Regions from separate parts of the Homo sapiens genome. Here region 1 is linked to region 2. The links are contacts of gene promoters, found by promoter capture Hi-C in blood cells and fetal thymus (Javierre and others, 2016). All regions are on one chromosome and are shown on one strand. Each heading gives the region's core, a stretch centred on a gene start or on the middle of the fragment in contact. The rest is flanking DNA. Distances are from core to core; before and after follow the strand shown. Region 1 has its middle 3.9 kb from the start of TSGA13. Region 2 holds the start of MESTIT1 (MEST intronic transcript 1, antisense RNA).

Evidence for each region. Contacts are between HindIII fragments. The CHiCAGO score rates a contact against its expected background, and 5 or more counts as called.
Region 1: a fragment that was not itself captured here is called in contact with the fragment with the promoter of MESTIT1 in region 2 in 1 of 17 cell types (endothelial precursors); the score reaches 9.3 in endothelial precursors.

What each region holds. Positions count from the first base shown.
Region 1 is chr7:130,687,939-130,692,977 of GRCh38, reverse strand. No RefSeq gene overlaps it. Among named protein-coding and RNA genes, the nearest start is that of TSGA13, 3.9 kb to the right of the region's middle. The HindIII fragment of the contact is 981 bases long and covers 3,260-4,240 here.
Region 2 is chr7:130,487,980-130,493,431 of GRCh38, reverse strand. It overlaps MESTIT1 (MEST intronic transcript 1, antisense RNA), which reads left to right and starts at 2,455. Exons shown (of 2, transcript NR_004382.2): 1 at 2,455-2,590; 2 at 3,465-5,452. MEST (mesoderm specific transcript) reads right to left here and starts at 1,347. Exons shown (of 12, transcript NM_002402.4): 1 at 1,093-1,347. The coding sequence starts at 1,118. RefSeq lists a silencer at 2,310-2,519. The HindIII fragment of the contact is 7,997 bases long and covers 1,880-5,452 here.

The sequences.
Region 1 (5,039 bases), core at 2,501-5,000, 200 kb before region 2:
TGTTTACTAAATTCAACATCACTTAGCATTAGATAAATGCAAATTAAAACCACAATGAGATATCATCTCACACCAGTCAGAATGGTTATTACTAAAAAGTCACAAAATAACAGATTCTGGCAAGATTGTGGAGAAAAAGGAATGCTTATACACTGTCCTCAAAGACCTAAAGACAGAAATACCATTTGATCCAGCAATGTCATTACCAGGTATATACCCAAAGGAATATAAATCGTTCTATTATAAAGACACATGCACATACATGTTCATTGTGGCACTATTCATAATAGCAAAGACATGGAATCCACCTAAATGCCCATCAGTGATAGACTGGATAAAGAAAATGTGGTACATATACACCATGGAATATTATGCAGTCATGAAAAAGAATGGGATCATGTCCTTTGCAGGGAAATAGATGAGGCTGGAGGCCATCATCCTTAGGAAACTAACACAGAAACAGGAAACCAAAAACAGTATGTTCTCACTTATGAGTGGGAGCTAAATGATAAAAACACATGGACACACAGAGGGAAACAACACACACTGGGGCCTATCAGAGGGTGGAAGGTGGGAGAAGGGAGAGGATCAGGAAAAATAACTAATGGATACTAGGCTTAATATCTGGGTGATGAAATAATCTGTACAACAAACCTCCATGACACATGTTTACCTATGTAACAAGCCTGCACATCCTGCACATGTACCCCTGAACTTAAAATAAAAGTTAAAAAAAAAGAGGAGGAGAAGACATGGGATTTCTCACTGCTGTCGGCAGAGAATGTCTGAATGGGGATGCATATCCACTGCTCCTTCATGTATCATCCCGCCATGTTGGAAACATTCAGAAATTTGCCATGTTGGGCATCTTCAGTCCCAGAGTTTTTCCTGAGACCACCTTCTATCCCTTGCTGTCCATCTTGTACATTTAAAACCTCATTTCCCCCCCACCCAGTTTTGTTTCTCCTTTGGTCCCCATTTTCCTGACACTCCAGTGCTAAATTGAATGTAAGTACTGAGTGGAGAGACAGCTTCCACTTTCGTAAGTAGATTTCCCCACATTTTTAATAGACAAATCTACAGAAAAATTGGATGGCCTTGATTCCTAATTCCCAGATTCCCAGCCTCCTGCTCTTCTCTGTATTCCTCCACTTCTGGCAGCTTCTTAGCTCCCTATTCTTGCCAGAGCAGCTATTGCTGCTGCTATATTCTACTCCTCATAAAATGCATTAGCCCTAAAAATCATTTTCCATTCATTCATCTCTGAATAATGCTAGCTTTGTTGAGTCTTGGTGTTGGTCAATACATGAGATTAATGAATTTATAAACTCTGCTCCTGCTTTCTTACCAGAGATGGAGGGCAGGTTGCTAGGCAAACCTCCCTGCCCAGTCCCCAGTTTCTATCTGGCTTTCATTTTTTGCTTTGCTGGGGAGATAACTTTCTCAAATTCCTACTTACATATTCTCTGGTATCTGAGTCTATGTAGACTATGTAAAATAACAGTTGTAGCATTCACTGTAGTCAGGATGTTGATTTAGGTTGGTGCAAAAGTAATATTTGAGGTGCCAATTACATCTCTTTCCCTTACCGGTTCTGAAGCAGTTAGTAAACACATGCAAAAATCTGGTAAGTTCAGAATATCAGCTTTCTGCTAGAAGTTGGTTTGGAGACTGGCTGGGGCCTGAACATACATTGGGCTTCCTAAAACATCCCCCTGAACTGGAAAGATTTACCCAGCCACTGATAAATGATAGGCCTCTCCTCAAGAAAGCAAGAGCTTCATGTGTCACCAGCAGGCTGTTTAAGAAAGAAAGAGTGGGCCGGGCACAGTGGCTCACGCCTATAATACCAGGACTTTGGGAGGCCGAGGGCAGATCACGAGGTCAGGAGATCGAGACCATCCTGGCTAACACGGTGAAACCCTACCTCTACTAAAAAAATACAAAAAATTAGCCAGGCGTGGTAGTGGGTGCCTGTAGTCCCAGCTACTTGGGAGGCTGAGACAGGAGAATGGTGTGAACCCAGGAGGTGGAGCTTGCAGTGAGCCGAGATCATGCCACTGCACTCCAGCCTGGGTGACACAGCAAGACTCCATCAAAAAAAAAAAAAAAAAAAAAAAAGGAAAGAAAGAAGGAAGGAAAGAAGGAAGGAAGGAAGGAGAGAAAGGAAAGAAGGAAGGAAGAGTGGCTAGGTATAGTAGCTCATGCCTGTAATCCCAGCACTTTGGGAGGCTGAGAGAGGAAGATTGTTTGAGGCCAGGATTTCAAGACCAGCCTGGGCAACACAGTGAGACCATGTCTCTTTAAAAAAAAAAAAAAAAAAGCTGGGCATGGTGGTGCATGCCTGTAGTCCCAGCTACTCAGGAGGCTGAGGTGGGTGGGTGCCTGAGCCCAGGAGTTTGAAGCTGCAGTGACCTATGATGATGCCACTGCACTTCAGCCTGGGTAACAGAATGAGACCCTGTCTGAAAATGCAAGAAAGAAAGACAGAAAGAAAGAGAGAGAGAGAGAGAGAGAGAGAGAGAGAGAGAGAGAGAGAGAAGGAAAGAAAGAAAGAAAGAAAGAAAGAAAGAAAGAAGGAAAGAAAGAAAGAAAGAAAGAAAGAAAGAAAGAAAGAAAGAAGAAGAAAGAAAGAAAGAAAAAGAAAGAATGAAAGAAGACAAAAATGGGGCAAACTACCCTTGCTTGGCATTCTGTGCCACTACCTTTTTTCATGAAGGGTAGATGCTTCTTTCCACACTTCCTTACTTTCCATACCAATACTTCCATAAAGGTAGCCGTTTCTATTTTATAAACAGTTAGAAATGAGAAAAGAGGACAAAACTGTTCAAAAAAACAGTTCCTCCCATCTTGTGCCCTTCCTCCTGCTCTTTGCTCCTGAGGTCACATCTCTCAGAATGCACTGTGCCACCCCAGCACCCTGTCCTCCCTGCCCAGCTGTTACCTGGGGTGTGAAGTCTCCATCTGAATGTGGAAAGTTATGTAGGTGAAGGGATAAGGGGGAGCTGTTCTTAGGCCCTGTCATAGATCAACACCCAAGGAGTAGTAGGCAGGGAGGATCGCCCTGAGTTTTGATCAATGCAGCCCCTGTATCTCTGAAAAAAGAAGACAAACAATGGGGATTCACATTCTCTTTTACCAGATGGTCTCTGTTTCTTCAAGCAAATCCTGGCATTTCCATGAACCCAAGCCTTGTAGGTTTTTTTCAGTCTAGATTTATCTGCCTTATAAGTGGCAGCATTGGATTGCTTATTAAGCTTTTGGTCATTTTTGCAAGTTTTAATCTTTTTCTATACCTTCAAAACTTGCTGCTTGAAGCTAAAAAATTTGTTTCCTTTTTCATAATAGCATCCCTTCCAATGATATCATCCCACCTGTGGCCACTTCCTCCTAGTTCTCTTTCAATCTCTGGCCACTCCTTTTCCATGTTCTTTACAAAATTCATTTATGATGCTCTTTTTTGGATGTTTACATAGTCTGGGGCATGGTTCTATGCTTTAGTCTCTTGTTAGTCCACCATTTTTCCTACTTGATCTTATCTAGTCCAATGGCTTCAATTAGCACATAATGCTTGAGGCTGACTTCCAAATGCATAATTCTACCCAAATGGCTTAGTCTGTTCAGGCTGCTATAACAAAATACCATAAACTGGGTGGATTATAAACAACAGGAATTTATTTCTCACAGTTCCAGAGGCCGGGAAGTCCAAAATCAAGGTGCTGGCACATTCAGTATCTGGTGAGGACCGGCTTTTTGTTGTGTCCTCACATGGCAGAAGGAGTAAAGATGTGCTTTTGAAGCCACTTCTATAAGTGCACTAATTGCCCCCACAAAGGCTCCACATCCTAATACCCTCATAATTAGGGACTCAGTATCAACATATGAATTTAGGGAGGCAGAGGACATAAACATTCAATCTATAGTACCAAACCTGTCTCTCCTGAGCTCCAGTCCCATATTTTAAACTACTTACTAGACAACATCCTCACCTCTGCCTCATACTCAACTGACCAGAAACAAAATTCATCATTTATCCCCCAAACTTGCTCCATTCCCTTTGTTCTCTAATTTGGTAACTTGCACCTCCATTAACTCAGGTAACAAAGCTAAAAATGTGATTATATTCCTTATCTCATGTATTCAACTAGTTACCAAGTTCTATTAATTCTACCCTCCTAACATCTTTCATATATCCTTTTTTAACCCTCTTCACTGCCACTACCTTGCTTTAGAGCAAGCTTGTCCAACCCATGGCCCATGGGCCACACGTGGCCCAGGATGGCTTTGAATGCAGCCCAACACAAATTCAAAAACTTTCTTAAAACATTATGAGTTTTTTTTGTGTGATTTGTTTTAGCTCATCAGCTATTGTTAGCGTTAGAGTATTTTATGTGTGGTCCAATACAATTCTTCCAACGTGGCCCAGGGAAGCCAAAAGATTGGACACCCTGCTTCAGAGCCCATATTAGGTTTTTTTTTTTTTTTTTTTGGTCATAAACTGCAGAAATGAACCCTAAGAAAATAAAGGATTTATTTGAAAGAATATTAGGAAAGCTCACAGAACTGAAGAGAAAATTGTGTAGTCTTGCTTTAGGAAGGACTAGATCTGGGGCAGCTCCGGGGACCTCAGCAGGTAGAGCTCAGAGCTCAGAGTCTTCCAGCCTGGGATACCACATGAGGTGGCTCAGGTGCAATCATCTTACAGCTCTGTGGGTCATTAGCAAACTTTCAAATTCTTAGTATAACCTGGTTGGCCACCTTTGAATCAATCATCCAGAGCTAGGATGCAGGAGTGAATGGCACTAATTGGTGATGGCTATAGACCCTTATAATTTCTCAACCCCTCCTCAGCACTGTCATAGACTTCTCAAGGACCTCTTTGCATCTTTCTAATCTATAGTTCTTCTGTCTTTCCAATCTATAGTTCACATGCCACTATTTTTGTATTTCTAAAATATATATTGTTCAATAAGGAGATTATACCTCATTTAAAATCTCTTGTTAGCGCTTCATTACTCAGAATAACCCACAAACTTCCT
Region 2 (5,452 bases), core at 1,206-3,705:
TTAAGCAAACATTTTTTGGCCAAAATCCCAACTATTTGATGAGCCATGAGCGGAGACAATAAGCAAACTCCAGTAACAAACTTTCCAAAAATTTCTGAGCCTTGATTTCTTCATCTTGTAAACAGAAAAACACACTCCCGTAATAATACCACCCAACCTGCCGCCCACCTGATGGCGTCGCCGCGAGACGAACCACTTTGAAAACCCGCGAAACCAAGGTGAACAATCCCTGCGCAACATGACAGTTTGGTCACATCGCCGTTCTCACTCGCGCTTGTTACTGAAATCTGAAAAATACTTAAGGCGGCTGACGGGCACTGCGAGTTCTAGTCACTGCGGTGACTCCCGCCACCGTGATACCTGGGTCTTGAAATCCTAAGCTGCACCGCGGCGATCTCGGCACTGCGATTATCCCGTTCTTGAAATCCTAAGGTGCGCCACGGAGACACCGGGGTTCTAAAAATCCTACATCGCACCAGGGCGATGCTGGGGCCTATCCTTTAAGTCGCACCAGAGCGATGCTGGGGTTCTAAAAATCCTACATCGCACCAGGGCTTTGCCGGGATCTATAAATCCTAAATCGCGCCACGGCAACGGCGGAGTCTAAGAATCCTGAATCGCACCAGAGGGAAGCCGGAGTCTAAATATCCTAAATCAAACCAGGGCGATGCTGGGGGTTAGAAATCCTAAATCATGCTGCAGCAATGACTGAGTATAAAAATCCTAAATCGCACCAGGGTGATGCCAGGATCTAAAAATCCCAATTCGCATCAGGGTGAGACCAGGGTCATTATGGATCCTAAGTCATATCAAGATGACGCTGGGGTCCAGAAATCCTAAATCTCACCACGACGATCCCGGGGTCTAGAAATCCTAACCCAAGGAGGTCCCGCGTTCTGAACATTCCATTGCGGGCAGGAGTGACACCCCCTCCTCAAGTAGGCAGAGCGGGCGCGGAATGCGTGCCGCCTGTCGGTAGAGTTTTCGCCCAGAGGCAGCCCCAGCTCGGACACGGGCACACAGTCCTCCGCTCGCCTGCGCCCTAGTCCCAGGGCCGCCAGCCACACCCCCTCGTTCCCACCGCACACTCACCTGCGGAGGCGATCTCGGCGCACCATGGCCGCGTTATCCCATGCCGCCCGCCGCAGCGTTGCAGAGCACCGGGCGCCGCAGAGCCCGCAGCCGTGCAGAGCTGGCCAGCAGCGGGGGCGCAGCCCGCAGCCCACAGCCCGCGCAGGGCGGCGCCGCGCCGGGCAGCTACAGCCACTCCGGCGTGCGCTGCGGCACTGCGCTTGCGAGGCGCAGCTGCCGCAGAGGAGGTGCCGGGGTGTGCTGGTTGCCGCGGCAGCGCGGAGCGAGTGGGCACCGACTTTTAGAGCCCACCCGCGCCCCGCCCCTAGCCCGCCCATCGCCGCAGAACCCCTACCGCCTGCTCCCTTGCTCGCCGCAGAGCCCCTCCCAGCCGCTCTACCACCGCCATGGCCACAAAGATGGGGTGCCCCTCTAACAGTGGCTCCTTTAGGGGGCACCTTCAGGGGTGTCGAGCCCCCTCCCCAAGACCCCGCTGCTCCCTCGTTAACCGCCAACCCTGAGCCCGAGATTCTGCTGCAGAAACCCTCCCCTGATGAGTTAAGGCCACGGGCAAAAACAGCAGACCCCTGAGTGCCCCAACTCTTTCCTTAGACCACCCACAAACCCCACAGGCCGCCCACAAACCCCACAGGCTGCCCACAAGCCCCACAGGAGGATGGCCGCTCGAACTAAGGGGCAGCAGGGCTCTGGGGTGCCGGCCGTGGCGCCTGCTCCCATCCCTCGTTCGAAGCGTGGGTACTGAACCGTGAGAGGTGGCGAGCCACGAGGGCCCTATGCGCCCTAAGCTTAACTACCGGTAACCACCAAGGGCACGAGCAAGCGGCTAGGGAGCAACAAGCTCTGTTGGACCCACCACCAAGCTAGTAAACAGATTCATGGGATGGCCACTATGGCCAAAGTTGCACAAAGTCCGGTTTCTCCCGCTCCAGCCACCGCCGCTGCGCGGGGCAGGTTTCCTTTACAGCAGCGCGACGTGGTCAGCATGCCAGACGCCTGGCCACAGCAGCGCCCTCGCAGCCCCGCTCGCTGCATGCGCCGGTCCGCGCTGCACAGAACAGTGGGCACAATTAGGAGAGCAAAGCCCCCTTTATTTACGTAAGATAGAATCACAATGCAAGGGCCCAGAGGCACAAGAAAGAGGGAGGAATTTTTCTAATCCATAATCCTTTAAAAGGCATCCCTTACGCCTTTGAAAAGTGTAGAGTATCACGAAGTGTCTGTGTTCATTTTCTGACCGTAAACTGAAATACTGGTGAACAAACGTGGGGTGCGAGCGGGTGAGCGGGGCGGCCGGCCGGTGCCCGCTGCATCCAGAGGGGGCGCTGCAGGCCTCCCTTCGGCTGCGCACGGCCCGGGCCCTCCGCGGCTCTGCAACTCTGCACCCCGAAAGGTTCGGTGCTGGACCGCGGGGCATCCAACCCGGGACCGGGGGCGACCCACGGACACTGAGGAAACTACCGCCTATAAGCCTATCATCAGAACCTCTGGCACAACACAGGTACACTTCTGCAGGGGTCTGGTTGCCCCCAGAAAAAGCACTCATGAAACAAATGCTGATTTAGCACCTACAGGGCACTAAGAACCGGGGGTGCGAAATAAATGAGAAATAGCCCCGGCCCGAAAACAACACACGGGCCATCTGGAGGGGAAGACAGACAAGAACTGCCACTTTGTAAAATTTTCCTTTTAATTTCCTAGCGACGTTTGTGGCAGTTGACCCACTCCTCCCTAACGTGTAAGGCCCTCAGAGGCAGAGCCCAAGTATTATTCACCTTTTGTAGCCCCAGAGCCCGCCACGGTGCCGGCCACAAAGCTGGCCCCTAATAAATACTGCTTGAATGAGTACAAGAATTTGAGGGCGCACAGGGGAGGAAGTAATTAAGGGGAGGGGCGAAGGGTGGTCTTGAATGATGAATAGACATTTACCAGAGAGACAAAGAACATTCCAGCCGGAGGGGACGGCTTTCGCAAAGCACCGGAGGCTCAGGGCCGCGTGTTTGGGGAAAACGGTTAGTCCTTTGAGCCGGCAAAAAATTAGGATAGCAAGAGAATTTCATCGTAGGGAATTAGGAATTTGTTCTAGAGAAAATGAGAAGCCACAGATGGATTTAAACTCTTTATGGCCTTAATTGGTTACTTAACAAAATTTAAATTAGTCTCTTTACAAGTCAAAGATTACCTATTTTAACTACCACTACCTTTTAAAGACTGAATTACTCTGCAAAATCTAAATCGGTTCTTCCAAAAAGGTAAAGGCTTTCCTATTTTAATAATAACAATAACAAAAGCCTTTGCATTATATATTTTTCATATTTATTGTTAATGGAAACTTTGAGTCCTACAAACAAATTCCACACTTTCATTCTCACCAGGCCAGAAACACCAGCATCCAAGATGAAGGCAATTTTCTGTTTATGGACTGAGTACCCCACAAAAGATCTTATTCTGAAGGCCATGGAACATGTCTACCCACATGGATCAAGTGGGCAGACTGGAGGAGAAACAGTTTAAAGGCCCTGGGGGAAGGAGGGAGCGCCAGGGAGAGCTCCTGAAGACAACAGGAATTCCAAGTCTGGCACTCGGGAGAAATCCTCCCTTCAGACATTATTGATGTCTGGCCGAGGAGTTAGGAAAAACTTCCTTGAAGGAGGGATTGAGGTTGAGATGGGCATGGAACCCAGATCTTAGGCAGAGAAAGCATATTCCTGTTTGGAAGAACCCTGAGTACAGAAGTCAGCTCAAAGATATCAGCTTGGCCCAACCAGGAATTCGCTGTGGGAAGTCTAAGAGAGAAAATGCTGGCCATAATCCCCCAGGAGCCAAAGAGTTAACGAATCTTCTAAATGTGCCTGATTTACTTCCAGAAAGGAGCTTCCTCCGCAGGGGGAGAATTTGACCCAAGGTATAAAACACTTGGAGCCCTGAGAAAACACACAGCCACACATAAATTCAAAGTCGGCTCTGGCTTGCTCGAAGTTGCACCCTTTCAGTTCCTCTGGACAGATGCTATCCTGGACTGTGCAGGATATCTCATGCAGTAGTACTCCCTCAGCCAGTGGCTTATCACACATTCTTGTCACATTCCAAGTCTAACACAGTTCCGCCTCATGATAAGACCTCAGATCTGTGCAAAAATTCATGTAGAAAGCTCTGCATTTATTATCTCGCTGATTCACAACAGTGGTATGGGATCAGCAGAGATGGTACCACAGATTCAAGAACCATATTTTTCTAACCCCAGTTTGAGACCCATAATATGACAAGTGCAGGATATTTATGGAGACAACAAGACACAACCGGGACTGCCACTTTCAAGAGCCATCATTGTAGATTCAAATCAACTAAAACACTTCATAATGGGAGAAACTTGGTTGAACAGGAGCACATGTTAACGAAGGGGTTTTGGTTGAGAAACTTACTGAATCAGTAAGACAGGACCCTTAAAAAGGCTACTGTGACTGCAGACTGAGGGGAAGTACCAAAAATAAGCTAATCCTACTCTATTATGCTGGTTAGAACTCACAGAAAGCATTTTATTCTGTTCTACAGAGCAGATACATATTGAAACAGAGACAAATAGGAATGTGTTCAGAGAAGGTCAACTAAATGAATTGCAAACTGAAGGTGTAACAGTTCTCGTATTTTAAGCTCCTACCATGAGCATGGATCTTCACCCAACATATCCCTGATCCTCACAGTAGCCTGGCTAGATGAGTATTTTCACTCACAGATTTCAGAGAGAGATACGGCAGCTCGGAACGCTAAGTGTTAGGATGTGAAGGGGCTGGGAACTGAACGCAGATGTGCCTGGCTCCAAAGTTGGCCTTCTTTCCACTACTCCACACTGCCTCCCTGTTTGAAATAGATGGGCATGTTTGGTTTGAAGAAAAGAAGCCTTGTGGAGTAAGTAGAAGAAGGAAATGTGTTAGCAGTCCTCAAATATTTGTGGAAGCAGCATTAGACATTTTATTCTGTATGGCTCCAATGAGTGCAAATTGTAGAGAAACAGATGTCGATTCAACATAAAGAATTTTCCAACATAGGGGCTGTCTAGAGGGATTGGGTGGCTCAGCCATTTTGGTATGGGACAAATTCTCTGTCCACTGGGGGCTGGGTAACCCTGTGGCAGGTATGCGAGCTCTGCATGTAAGACAATGAATGACCTGCAAGGTCTTTTCCCATCTGATGTAAAATAAGGCTCCAAGATGAACTGGAACTTGGCCAGGGTGATCCTCTACTGAGGGGACAAATTCACAGCTCAGTCTTCCCTAGTTATGTCCCTCAGCCCAGAACCCTTGGTACAACATGCTGCTTTGTACTGAGGGCAAGGCAAATTGAAGACATTATCATCAATAAAATC